Regions from separate parts of the Homo sapiens genome. Here region 2 is linked to region 1. Evidence: promoter capture Hi-C in 16 types of primary human blood cells and fetal thymus (Javierre and others, 2016). All regions are on one chromosome and are shown on one strand. The core of a region is centred on a gene start or on the middle of the fragment in contact, and the rest is flanking DNA. Distances in the headings are between cores, read along the strand shown. Region 1 holds the start of CDX4 (caudal type homeobox 4). Region 2 has its middle 140 kb from the start of XIST.

The links. Contacts are between HindIII fragments. The CHiCAGO score rates a contact against its expected background, and 5 or more counts as called.
Region 2: a fragment that was not itself captured here is called in contact with the fragment with the promoter of CDX4 in region 1 in 1 of 17 cell types (non-activated CD4 T cells); the score reaches 5.1 in non-activated CD4 T cells.

What each region holds. Positions count from the first base shown.
Region 1 is chrX:73,443,742-73,449,248 of GRCh38, reverse strand. CDX4 (caudal type homeobox 4) reads right to left here and starts at 2,196. Exons shown (of 3, transcript NM_005193.2): 1 at 1,494-2,196. The coding sequence starts at 1,995. RefSeq lists enhancers at 1,172-1,836, 1,837-2,502. The HindIII fragment of the contact is 9,419 bases long and covers 1-4,451 here.
Region 2 is chrX:73,711,144-73,716,650 of GRCh38, reverse strand. No RefSeq gene overlaps it. Among named protein-coding and RNA genes, the nearest start is that of XIST, 140 kb to the left of the region's middle. The HindIII fragment of the contact is 2,192 bases long and covers 2,101-4,292 here.

The DNA of each region.
Region 1 (5,507 bases), core at 947-3,446:
AGACTGCGAGCAACTACTTTTCTAGCTTTTGTGTCTTTTGCTGATTGTTAGGGTTTAGTGAGTGGATGTTAATTACAACCCCGAGATTAGATGTAATAAAAACTCTGGGAGTGCCCCACCCTAACCTCTTTTTCTATTCTACTTAGTCGACAGACTCACTCATATTTTTTTAAAATGCAGATTTACTTGCAAACGCTTTAAAGCCAAGTATTTCAACTCTACTTTTACCTTGGGATCGCTACTCTAGTGAGGTTCTAATACACAGAACTTCCTCTTCCTGGCTAAAAGTTCTCCTAATGGTAAAAATGGGTCACTTCCCACCCTCCTGTCTTTGCTTTTTGGAGGAAAGACAAAGTGCAGAACTGAGAACAGGAGCATAATCATTGCGGACAAATGCTATTGAAATGCCATTTCCTCCCCAGAGGGATGAAAATACTCAGAGTCGATTTTTACTAATTTTCTCTAATGACAGGGAGCGAGGGTTGGAATAATAAGAATGTAATAAAAGAACAACAGTTGAAAACAAACATTCCTCCCCCAGCCCCGGTTAAGATTAAAGTGGAACGGCCACTTCCCTCGCCCTGGCTCCCAGCAGTCGCCCACTGGCTTGCTGGTTAGGCTGTGATCGCGATCGCTTTGACTTCTCTCGCGCTGCCGCAGACCTGCATTCAGCCCCCACGCCTGAGAGACGCCTGCTTTGATAGTTATGAGGGCTTTAGCCATTTATTAGTGCTGGAGCTGATTCGTTTGCGTGTCGGGCGGGTGTGAGGGTTAGGTACCGTATTATGTACCAGGTCAGTGCTGTAGCCTTCTCGCCTGCCTCAACACTTGGGTTAGAAGAAAGGACGTTGTAAGATGGCAATGGATTTTAGGCCAATTTGCCTCTGCCAACTTGTAGGAAGGAAGCTGGAGCTTCCCTGAGAGGCCAGGGTGAAGAGGTTGCTTTGCCGTCGGGGACTTAGTGGCTAAACTGGAGGGTCCGTTGCCAGCCAAGCACTGTGAACCTAAATTGAGCATCACCAGCTTTGGGGGCGGGGAGGGGGGAGACAGCCCGCTCAGATGGGTAAGGGTTTGGAAATGGAACAGTCAAGCAGCAGTGCCTGAACAACGGGACACTACAGCTGCCCTCTCGCTTCATTCACCCGTTGAGCTTTCTCATGCATCTCTTTTCCCATGTGGGCAACTACAGGGTTGCATCCTGATCCTTGTGGCTTAACATACCCATTGTCCACTCACTCGCTTTCTTCATGGAGCAGCGAAAGGCGAAAATCACCTCTAGGGTAGGTTTAGTCCCAATCGCTGCACTCAGTGAGTGAGTTTTGAGCCCAGGCGAATGCGAGGGAGATGCCTAATAGGCCAGCCAGCCATATAGGGGTCGCCTCAGCTAAGCCCTCTTGGGAGAGGCCTGAGAAGTACGAGGGCAGGCCGACCAAGAGAAGTAGCGGAGAAGGGAAGGAAGGAAAAGTGTGTGGGCATTGGAATTGATTACTCACCCGTCACCTGCACCGTCTTGCGCATCCATGCATAGGGGCTGTGGCGGCTCCTGCTGGGGGAACTGGCCTTGGCGGCGCCTGCGTCCGTCGGGACAAGCGACCCGCCAGCCTGGCCTGGTAGGCTGCTGCCGCTAGTTCCACCGCCCACAGGGCCCAAGTTGCTGTAGTCGGTCGAGCAGAAAGCGGCGGGGCTAGAGGTCACGTCGTTCACCGGCACTGTGCCCATTGTACTAGACGGCCCAGGATACACGCTCCAGTCTTCTCGCGGGGGACTGTAGGGTGAGCCCCAGACTCCCAGAGACGGCCAGTGAGGATCCATGCTGGGCATATGAGGATACCCCATATAGTGCGAGAAAGCCGGTGCCGCAGCGAAATTGGAGGCTGGCATCGGACTCCCACCGCCCCCTGTGCCGCCTGTCCCAGCTGTGCCGTCGCCCCCAGGGCTCATGAGAGTGCCCGGGTACATGCCTGCTTCTTTCTCCAAAAGACAGCTTCCGTACATCGTGTCTTGGGTAGAAGGCGCTCCCTAAGCCATCCTGAAGTCCCTGTAAGGCCCCAACTCGACTTTGAGAAGCAGCAGAGAATAAACTTATCAGTACGTAGTTGTGCCGCAAGCTCTTTTGCACCCCTCAGGCTACTCCATCCCACGTTTCTTACGAGGGTATCCAGGTGACTAGCAGCCCTGTATAGATAGGCCACCAATGGCTGGGCTGACGTCAAGGGGCTTCAGGCTTTTACATAGCATTTGCATTCAAATGAAGGGCCATTTCACTTTCACAGGAACTTGTTCACCCACTCCCCAAGCTCCCAGGCCTTTCTGTCTCATCTTTCTTGATTCTGTCCATCTGGTCCCCATAGCGTCAGTATTGTGCTTTTGGGGACAGGAACTCCTCCAGGGATTTCTGACCAGCTCCCCTCAAAGTCAGATAGAGACCTGCAGAAACCGGGCAAAGTTCCGCTCTCTAGGATTCAGTCCTTACACCGCGGCCTCCTCCCTTTCACCGATCTTCCCGCGTCCAACCTGCATCTGCAGTCTCCTTCTGCCCAATTCCCTCGCAGGGGTTTACTGCATGGCACTGGCCCAGGATGCCAATGAAAAGAGCTTTCCCTTACTCTCCTTACTCCCTCCATCAAGAGGACGCCTTTGTTTCCAAGGGCAAAGATTCATTTCACAACTCTCTGTTGAGCGTCTACTGTGTGCCAGGTACTGTGTAGGCATGGGGATACAGCAGTGAATAAAAGACAAAAATTCTTGCTCTGCCTTCCTAAGATTACACTGTAGTGGATGGCAGGCTGAATTAATAGAACGTTGTTTACAAATATGCACAAATTAAAGAAAGATGAGTAACGTAGGTTATGCAAAATGGTAGGAGAGAGAGAGAACCATGTGGATAATAAACTTTCCTATTTTCATGTCAATCCACTACTCTCAGGTGTCTCCTTCTGCCAGGTATGGCTTCTGTCTGAAATCCAGTGCCTCAAGGGGCCAGAACTCTTGCAGTCTCAAATCCATGGCAGCTGCAGCAAACTAAAAAAGTTTTCTTTGTAAAACTCCAATTGTTGAAAAAGACATAGACTTGCTAGTAGATGCCAATGAAATCAGTATCTTGCCTCAAGAAACCAGGTCTCCTCTTGTGTTCCTCCTCTCCACCCAGCACCCCCAAGACCTACCACAGCCTTTACTCCAGGCTGCTTCCTACTCAGGAAATGTGCTCCTACACAAAATCCAACATAACCTGGCACCCCCACCCCCTTTTAGCTAATCCATCTATGGCTTTGGGAAAGTCACTTAACCTCTCTGAGTTTCACGGGTTTTCCCTTTTAAAAATAGAGAACCTAATGGTATCTACCTTACAAGCAGGATTTCCTCAGATAATGCAAGCAAACTGCTTAACTTAGTGCTTGGCACACAGTATGGGACCACTGTATTCACTCAGCAAATATTTATTGAGTACTTAGTGCTGTTCTATGTATGGAGACATCAGTGGTGAGCAGATAAAGCCTCCGGCTTTATTAAGCATATATCATAGTGGGGAGAAACACTGATAAGTAATTAAATTTTATGGTATATCAGACAGTAATCAACTCTATGGAGAAAAAAAAAAGCAGGGAAGGAATATACGGAATGCTGGGAGGTGGACGTCACAATTTTAAATGTGATAGTCTAGGATGACTTCACAGATAATTGACATTTAACTAAAATATGAAAGAGTTAATGGAGTGAGGTAAGAGGACAGAGGATTCAGAAGAAAGAAACAAGTGAAAACAGAATGTTCATTTTCTGTTGGAGAAAGTGCAAGGAAGACAGTGTAGCTAAAGACTAGATGAGGTCTAAAAGCTGAAGGGAAATAGGCCATTGCAAAAATTCTAGTTTTTGCTTTGAGATAGGGAGACATTGTAGGGTTTAGAGCAGAGGAGTGACATGATTTGAGTTAAATTTTGAGTGGCTCTCTCTGGCCATTGGATCAAAAATAGACTGTAAGTAGACAGAATCAGGCAGATTTAAAAAAAAGACTATTGCAATAATACAGGTGAATGGCAGTGTGGGTGGAGATAAGTGGTTGGATTCGGTATATATTTTGAAACTTGTTTCAGAGAAGAAGGAAAATGAGTAATTGATCAGAAAAGACCAATTAAAGTCTGGTGCTGGGGAGAAGGGACTAAGAGGCAGGAAAGTAACATACCTATTGGCACTTTTTACACTTTTTGCACATTATTTTATCTTCACAACAGCCCCATGAGTTATTGTCATTCCCATTTTAGAGATGTAGAAACTGAGGCTCAGAGAGGTGGCATGACTATTTAAATGCACATGGCTGGTGTGTGGTAAAGCTAGGTTCAAATTCTGGGCCACCCTGACTGCAAGGCATGTGTTCTTCAATTGGTACCAGGCCCAAATACACAACATCAGCGTTTAGAACTGGGGCTTAGCTTCTATTTTCTTTCTTTGCTCAAGCTTTCAGGCCTGGCATTCAAGTCTTCACAGTATAGATCCAATTACCTCGCATTATTCTTTCACCTATTCAATTCTGAAGCAAAGTATACTATCTGATATTTGAAAAAATATGTCAGAGTGGAAGCACATGGAGGATCTTTAGAAGTTAACAAACCCAATCTTATTATTTAACAGATTAGGAAACTGATGGCTTAAGAGAGGAAGGTAATCTTTAAGGAAGTAAACCCAGGTCCATTGACTACCAGGTCAGCACTCTTTCCACTAAAATAAAAGTATCTTTGCATATGCAATTCCTTCGACTAGTCTGTTTCTTTCTACAATCTTCTAATTGTGGAAAGAAAAAGAAGTGTTCAAAATCTCCAAATTTTTCTTTAAGAGATGTAGTCTCACTTGTCACCCAGGCTGGAGTACAGTGGCACTATCATAGCTCACTACAGCCTCGAACTCCTGGGATGAAGCAATCCTTCCACCTCAGCCTTCTGAGTAGCTGGGACTACAGGCACGTTACCAACTTACCCAGCTGTCTCTATTCTTCAAGGTTCAGTTGAAATGTGCCCTTCTCGCTAAAGCCCTATGTAGTGATGCTCCTCTCAGAAAACACTCTTCCTCTTCTGTGAATCTCATTATCAATTCCCCTTCCCAATGGACTGATGGAGACTATTTTGTCTACCTTAGAGTTATTTGAGATCTTATCTGAATCTTCTGAAATTTGAGCACCTTGAAGGGGTATGGGGAAGTATTTTTGAACCCATTGGAATAAAGCTCCCTTGTACATGGTAGGGTCTTGGGAAATATTTGTGTAATGAATCAGTAAATGACCTTGGAATTGTAGATTGGAAATCACTATTTGATCCAGCTCCAGGGATGTCTGGAAGAGAAGTGAGTAAGAACATTGCCCAGTGGTTTTTGTTTGTGTGGTGATGGGGAGGAACAGACAGGGAGGTTTAGTCTAGTTTATTTAATGGAACTTTTGATTTATTTCTTAACCTGAAGATTAACCAGAGAGGTGGCTTCTCTGCAGCGATCTTACTGCCACTAGGGAGTAGTCTCTTAGCTTT
Region 2 (5,507 bases), core at 1,947-4,446, 270 kb before region 1:
GATTGGTCAGGGTGGTGGGAAAAGTTGTAGAAAGATGCAAACCTTCTTCAAAGGCTGGGTGGTTTTACAAGAGCTTTGGAAAAGGATATAGCTAAGGGCAGCCAAATTCTCTTATCCAGTGCCTGAAAGATTAGGTTGGATAACAAGGGGATGTAAAGAAACTGATCTAGAAAAGTTAGTTTACTTAGGCCTCAGAACCTGGCCTTTAATCATTTGCACACAGGACTGCTGTCTTGGGAGGTGGTGGGGGGGGGCAACCATGTTAATTACCCACAAGTGTGTTAACTCAAGGCCTTTGTCATTAAATCTGTACTAAATAAATGCCCACAGTGCCAGCTTGTCAGGGCCACGGCTGCTACAACTCTTTCTGTGAGCGGCCTGGTCCCCTAGCCCACTCTTTCACTGGATATCTGTGTTGGAGTGCATTTGTTCATCCATCGTTCGGCCAGGGTCTGTGGGTCAGACCCAGCAATTTTACATCAGTTAGGATGCCTATTACCAAAAAGTTAAAAAATAACATGTTGGTGAGGATGCAGCAAAAAGAGAACACTTATACACTGTTGGTGGGAATGTAAATTACTACAGCCTCTATGGAGAACAGCATGGAGATTTCTCAAAGAACTAAAACTAGAACTACTATTCGATCCAGCAATTCTACTACTGGGTATCTACCCAGAGGTAATCATTATATAAAAAAGCTACCTGCACTCATATGTTTATCACAGTACTCTTCACTATAACAAAGATATGGAATCAACCTGCTTGTCAACTGATTATTGGATAAAGTAAATGATATATATATATATATATATATATATACACACACACAGAGTGGAATACTATTCAGCCATAAAAAATAATAAAATCATGTCTTTTGGAGCAACATGAATGGAACTGGAGGCCATTATCTTAAGTGTAACAACTCAGAAACAAAATCAAATACCACATGTTCTCACTTATAAAAGAAGGGGCTAAGTAGTGTGATCACAGGGACATAGAATGTAAATTAATAAACACTGGAGACTTGAAATGGTGGGAGTGTGGGAGGGGGAGGGGGATGAGAAATTACTTAATGGGTACAATGTTCATTATTCAGGTGATGCCTACCCTAGAAGTTTAGACTCCACCACTACACGATATATCCATGTAAAAACACTACACTTGTATCTGTTAAGTCTGGACAAATAAAAAATAAAATAATAATAAAGGAACCAATGTTGGAAAGGTTGTCAAGAAGCAGGAACAATTATGAACTGCTATAATGATATAACTAGGCAGTATAAATCTTTATAGAGAGCAGTTTGGCATTATGCATTGAGAGGTCATTAAAAAGTCAGCTTGCTCTTTAACCCAGCAATCTCACTTTTGGAATGTAGCCTAAGGAAACACTTATAAATAAATTAAAAAATATTTGTACAAAATGATTGATATTTTTATTAATGAAAAATTGGGAATTGTCAAAAACCCTACAATGAAAAAATATTTAAATCCTAAAATCATAGAATGCTAAAGCTAGAATCTTTGAGGTCATTTTTTCCAAATACCATTTATTTTCCACCCCTTTTTATTTTTCAGAGGAAGCAACTGAACTCATGTAAACTCTAATATCAACTGGAATGCATATGCTACAGCCAAACTTGATAAAGACTATAAAATGTAAGAAAAGGTATGGATACAATACGGTAGTCACAGCTTTCGATGAAAATGTAATAAAAAGGGGAAAACAAAAATATAGCCTGTGAAAAGTTAAATTTTTAGGCCCACTCTTTGACAGCTATCTGACATCTCTAAATTATCAAACAGTTGGCAACATGCTTCTTGGATAATTTGCCTGATTCAGTGACAATTTGTCCAGAAATAGGCATAGAGAAAGGAGGTGGTCCTGTACTTAAAGTGAAAATAATTCAATGGAAACAGAATAAGAAATACTACATCGAAAATAAGGCAACTTTAGCTTCAGTTCCAACTCTGCCATTAAAACCAAGTCTCTGACTCCACTCTGGGACTGTGCTTTCTTGTTTCTTTTGGAGTAGATGACCTCAAAGATCTTTATTTATAGCCAACATTTTATGTCATCCTATAATATGGTTCCTGGAAGCTTAAAATTAAATTCAAAGAGTTGGTTAGAACATCATGCTCCTAATGCCAAACCACTGCATTTAAATCTTACATGTTCCCCTTGTTCTAGAATCACAAGCTAACCCCTCAACTGTAGGTAGCAATCTCGCAAATATGTTACTTGTCATGGAGAGGCCTGAATGAAAGTGTTTGGGCTACATTCTCAAAACTGGTAAACAATGCCAATATAATACTGCCTGATATTAGGACAGCAAGGCATAATCTGCTTAAAACTATTATGTCAGCTTTCTGGAGGTCAGTTGGAAAGATTTAAAGGGAATAAAAGAGCAAGTTTCCTTTAAAAGCCTACATTTGGAGGAAGAAAACCAAAAGGAAAGGTAAATTAGTTAGTAATCTTTAGTACTACATGCCACTGAGGTTTCACACAAACTTTGGACTTCCCAAGAGGATTGATTAGAGGCTGACAGCTGTAGGAGTTCACTGGATACAGCTCCCCTGAGGGAGAGGATTTCTCCTTTTTCTCCACAGTGCCCTTGTAGCCAGTATGCGTGGAGATGTCCCAGACAACAACAATACCTTCCCCTTCACTTTACAATTTCGAAAGCTCTTCCACATCCATGACTTAATTAGATCCTCACAATAGTCCTGCAAGACAAAGATTATTATATTCTTCCCATTTCATAAACTTATCAAAGACTAAGTAATCTCAAAGCTAGTAAGACGTGGAGACAGAATTTGAATCCACACAATCCAAGTTCAGTGCTTTTTCCACAAACCACTTTTCCTCTACCTCAGATGCAAAGTCTCACTGCAGCTTCCAAAACCCAAGTATTCTTTCTTTTCCTACTCCTTGGTCCATGATCTATTTTCATGCTTATCTTTAGTTCTACTTTACATTCTGTTGTAGCTCAACCAATTAAGAAGTGGAAAAGACCTATTGCATACCTAGAAAACAGAGTGAGATTTTAAAGTAGATTGTGTGTTATAGGCCCAGTTGCTGACATTTCTTGAGGAACTATTCATTTTCACATATTCTAAATCATTGCCCAAGTCATCAAGCCATGTCCCATGGCCAATCTTTTCTGTTAAACAACTAGACAACATGAACATAAATTGTCTCTGTCAGCCATTACTAGTCTGAGGAGGAAATGAAGAACAATCTTTGGGAAACACTCTGATTTATTCAGATCCAATAGCATACATCCCTTCACTTGCCCTATTCTTCTTGGTTAGTCTTGACTAATTCTTCCCTTCATTACAACTTCTGGCACCAGTGTGGGCATGCTATGAGTCATCAATCCATTTTCCTTAATCTTGTGGTATGTGGCATTCTGGTGTCTTTTAACCAGGCATTCTTTCTACCCATTGAGACTTAATTCTTACTTAGAGCCTGGATTATGACAAAGCTCATTAGTCTCAGAAGCCAAACCAACACTAACATGAATCAGGTGAATTCAGTGGGGTAGTCAGTAGAGTTATCATTCCCACTTGCCCACACAAATTTATTTGTTGACTGTTTTCAGCACTTTGAGCAAATGGAAGGTTTAGACAGAGATGAAGAAAAGTCAAGACTTAGAGACAAAAGCCAAACAGAAAGACAAATGAAACTGAAGATTTTATAACATGTTATAATTGATTACTCATTAAGCACCTATAGATTGTCAGATGAATATTAGAGATATCATGGAAAATGGGGCTCAGATGTTTTTCCCTTCAAATATGGATGTTAAGAGTATCAGTTTAAAGGTTCATTTATTTGAAATTTTCTTTCCTTAGCCACCAAAAATAATCAGCCGGAGGAAAAAAGGCCTCTAAAAATCTCCCCAACAACTGAAAGTACCAAGCCTTTGTAATTTTTCACTAACTCCTCTTTCTATTTGGCCCCTGTTATGTACATCCTATTTTAGTTTATTAAACCTTCACTAGTGTGGGTGTGAAAGAAAATGAAATACTTAAGGCTACGGCTTTAGAGTCAGGATACTGTGAGAGGATTGCACACCTACCTGTTAAAAATAAAGCCACAGGATGTTCCAATATATTTGGATAACAACAGACGTCAGTATCCTCCAGTTTTCAACATATCTCAGCTGGGAATACCCTAATTTACCAATCAGAATGGGTTTGCAATTTAGGATTTCTGCCCAGACAGTAAACTGCCTCTGAAAACAACATTTTTTTGTGTGTGTGGAAATCATTCCCATTTAAATAAAGCTTTCCTGTGCTTGTCTCTGGGTGTGTTATTCAGGGTTGCCCTGACTTTGTGTACCTGGGTTGCAATTCTTTGTTTTTCAAATAAATGGTATTTTCTCTGAATTTTGTATCAATATATATTTTAGTTAACATAGCTGGATTACAGAAGTCAGACCTTAAGTGATTTTACCTTCCAGTGGACCTCTGTTTTCTGAAATCAGGTGACGTACCCACAAGAAAGAGCTCCTTATGCTCTCCATCTCTTCGGATTGCTGATATGGTCATTGGTAAGTCCTCTCAGGCCCCATCCTCCTTCCCTTTAGTTGAGGACAATGCCTTTGAGAGTTTGGGAACAGCTGTTCCAATTGTTCTGGCAAAAGCTCTTACCTTGTGCAGGAGTTTTCCTGCTTTTGTCAGAAAATTTCATATTGGTTAGGAGTTCTTCCATTGATGAGTAAAATTAGCATTATAAATATGGGATTCTTTAATTCTAATCTTTGTAATTATTGTCCCCCTTCTGGGATTCAAGATAGTTATATGTTCAAAAATTATGGACTCTCCACATGTGTTTATCTGGAACCATGGACCTTTTACATAAAAGACATTTTGAAATTACAATGGCCAAATTGGTGTTCCTTTGATTTATTTAAACTAGGTTTTCTCTGAACTAAATGGAGAAGACCATGGTTTTAAAACAATAAAACCTAAATGAGGTGCTGATTTTAATTAGATTTAGAAGTGTCCAAACTCATTCAGGACTCTAAAATTGCCTCCCTCCAAAACAAAGTCTCTAAACTCACAAAGGTGAATAAAAAAATTGAAAGAAAGGAAAAGTCCTCAAGGCCCAGGTTTCTTCCCCTTACTCTCATTTTTCTACTTCTCCTGCTCCTCAGTCTCTATATCCTGTACTTGCTGAACTTCTGTTCTTATCATCCCAAAGCTTCCCTTGATTCCCTCATTCTTCTAAACCTATTCAAATTCACCTATTTAAGCTCCATCCAAATAATAATGGCCCTCTCTTAAACATTTCCAAACACCTTGGACAAAAGCTGAACCTAGGCCTATAGTTAAAGAGTTCCCCAAAGTTACTGAGAGCCCTCATGAATTTGCTGAAGAGTTTCAAATTGTTATCCAGTCTTATGAACCTGGTTTCTCTGACCTTTACCAATTAAAGCACATGCTTGTTGGAGAAGGTCAGCCACAACACTGGATGGCAAAAGCAGGTAGGAACAATCATC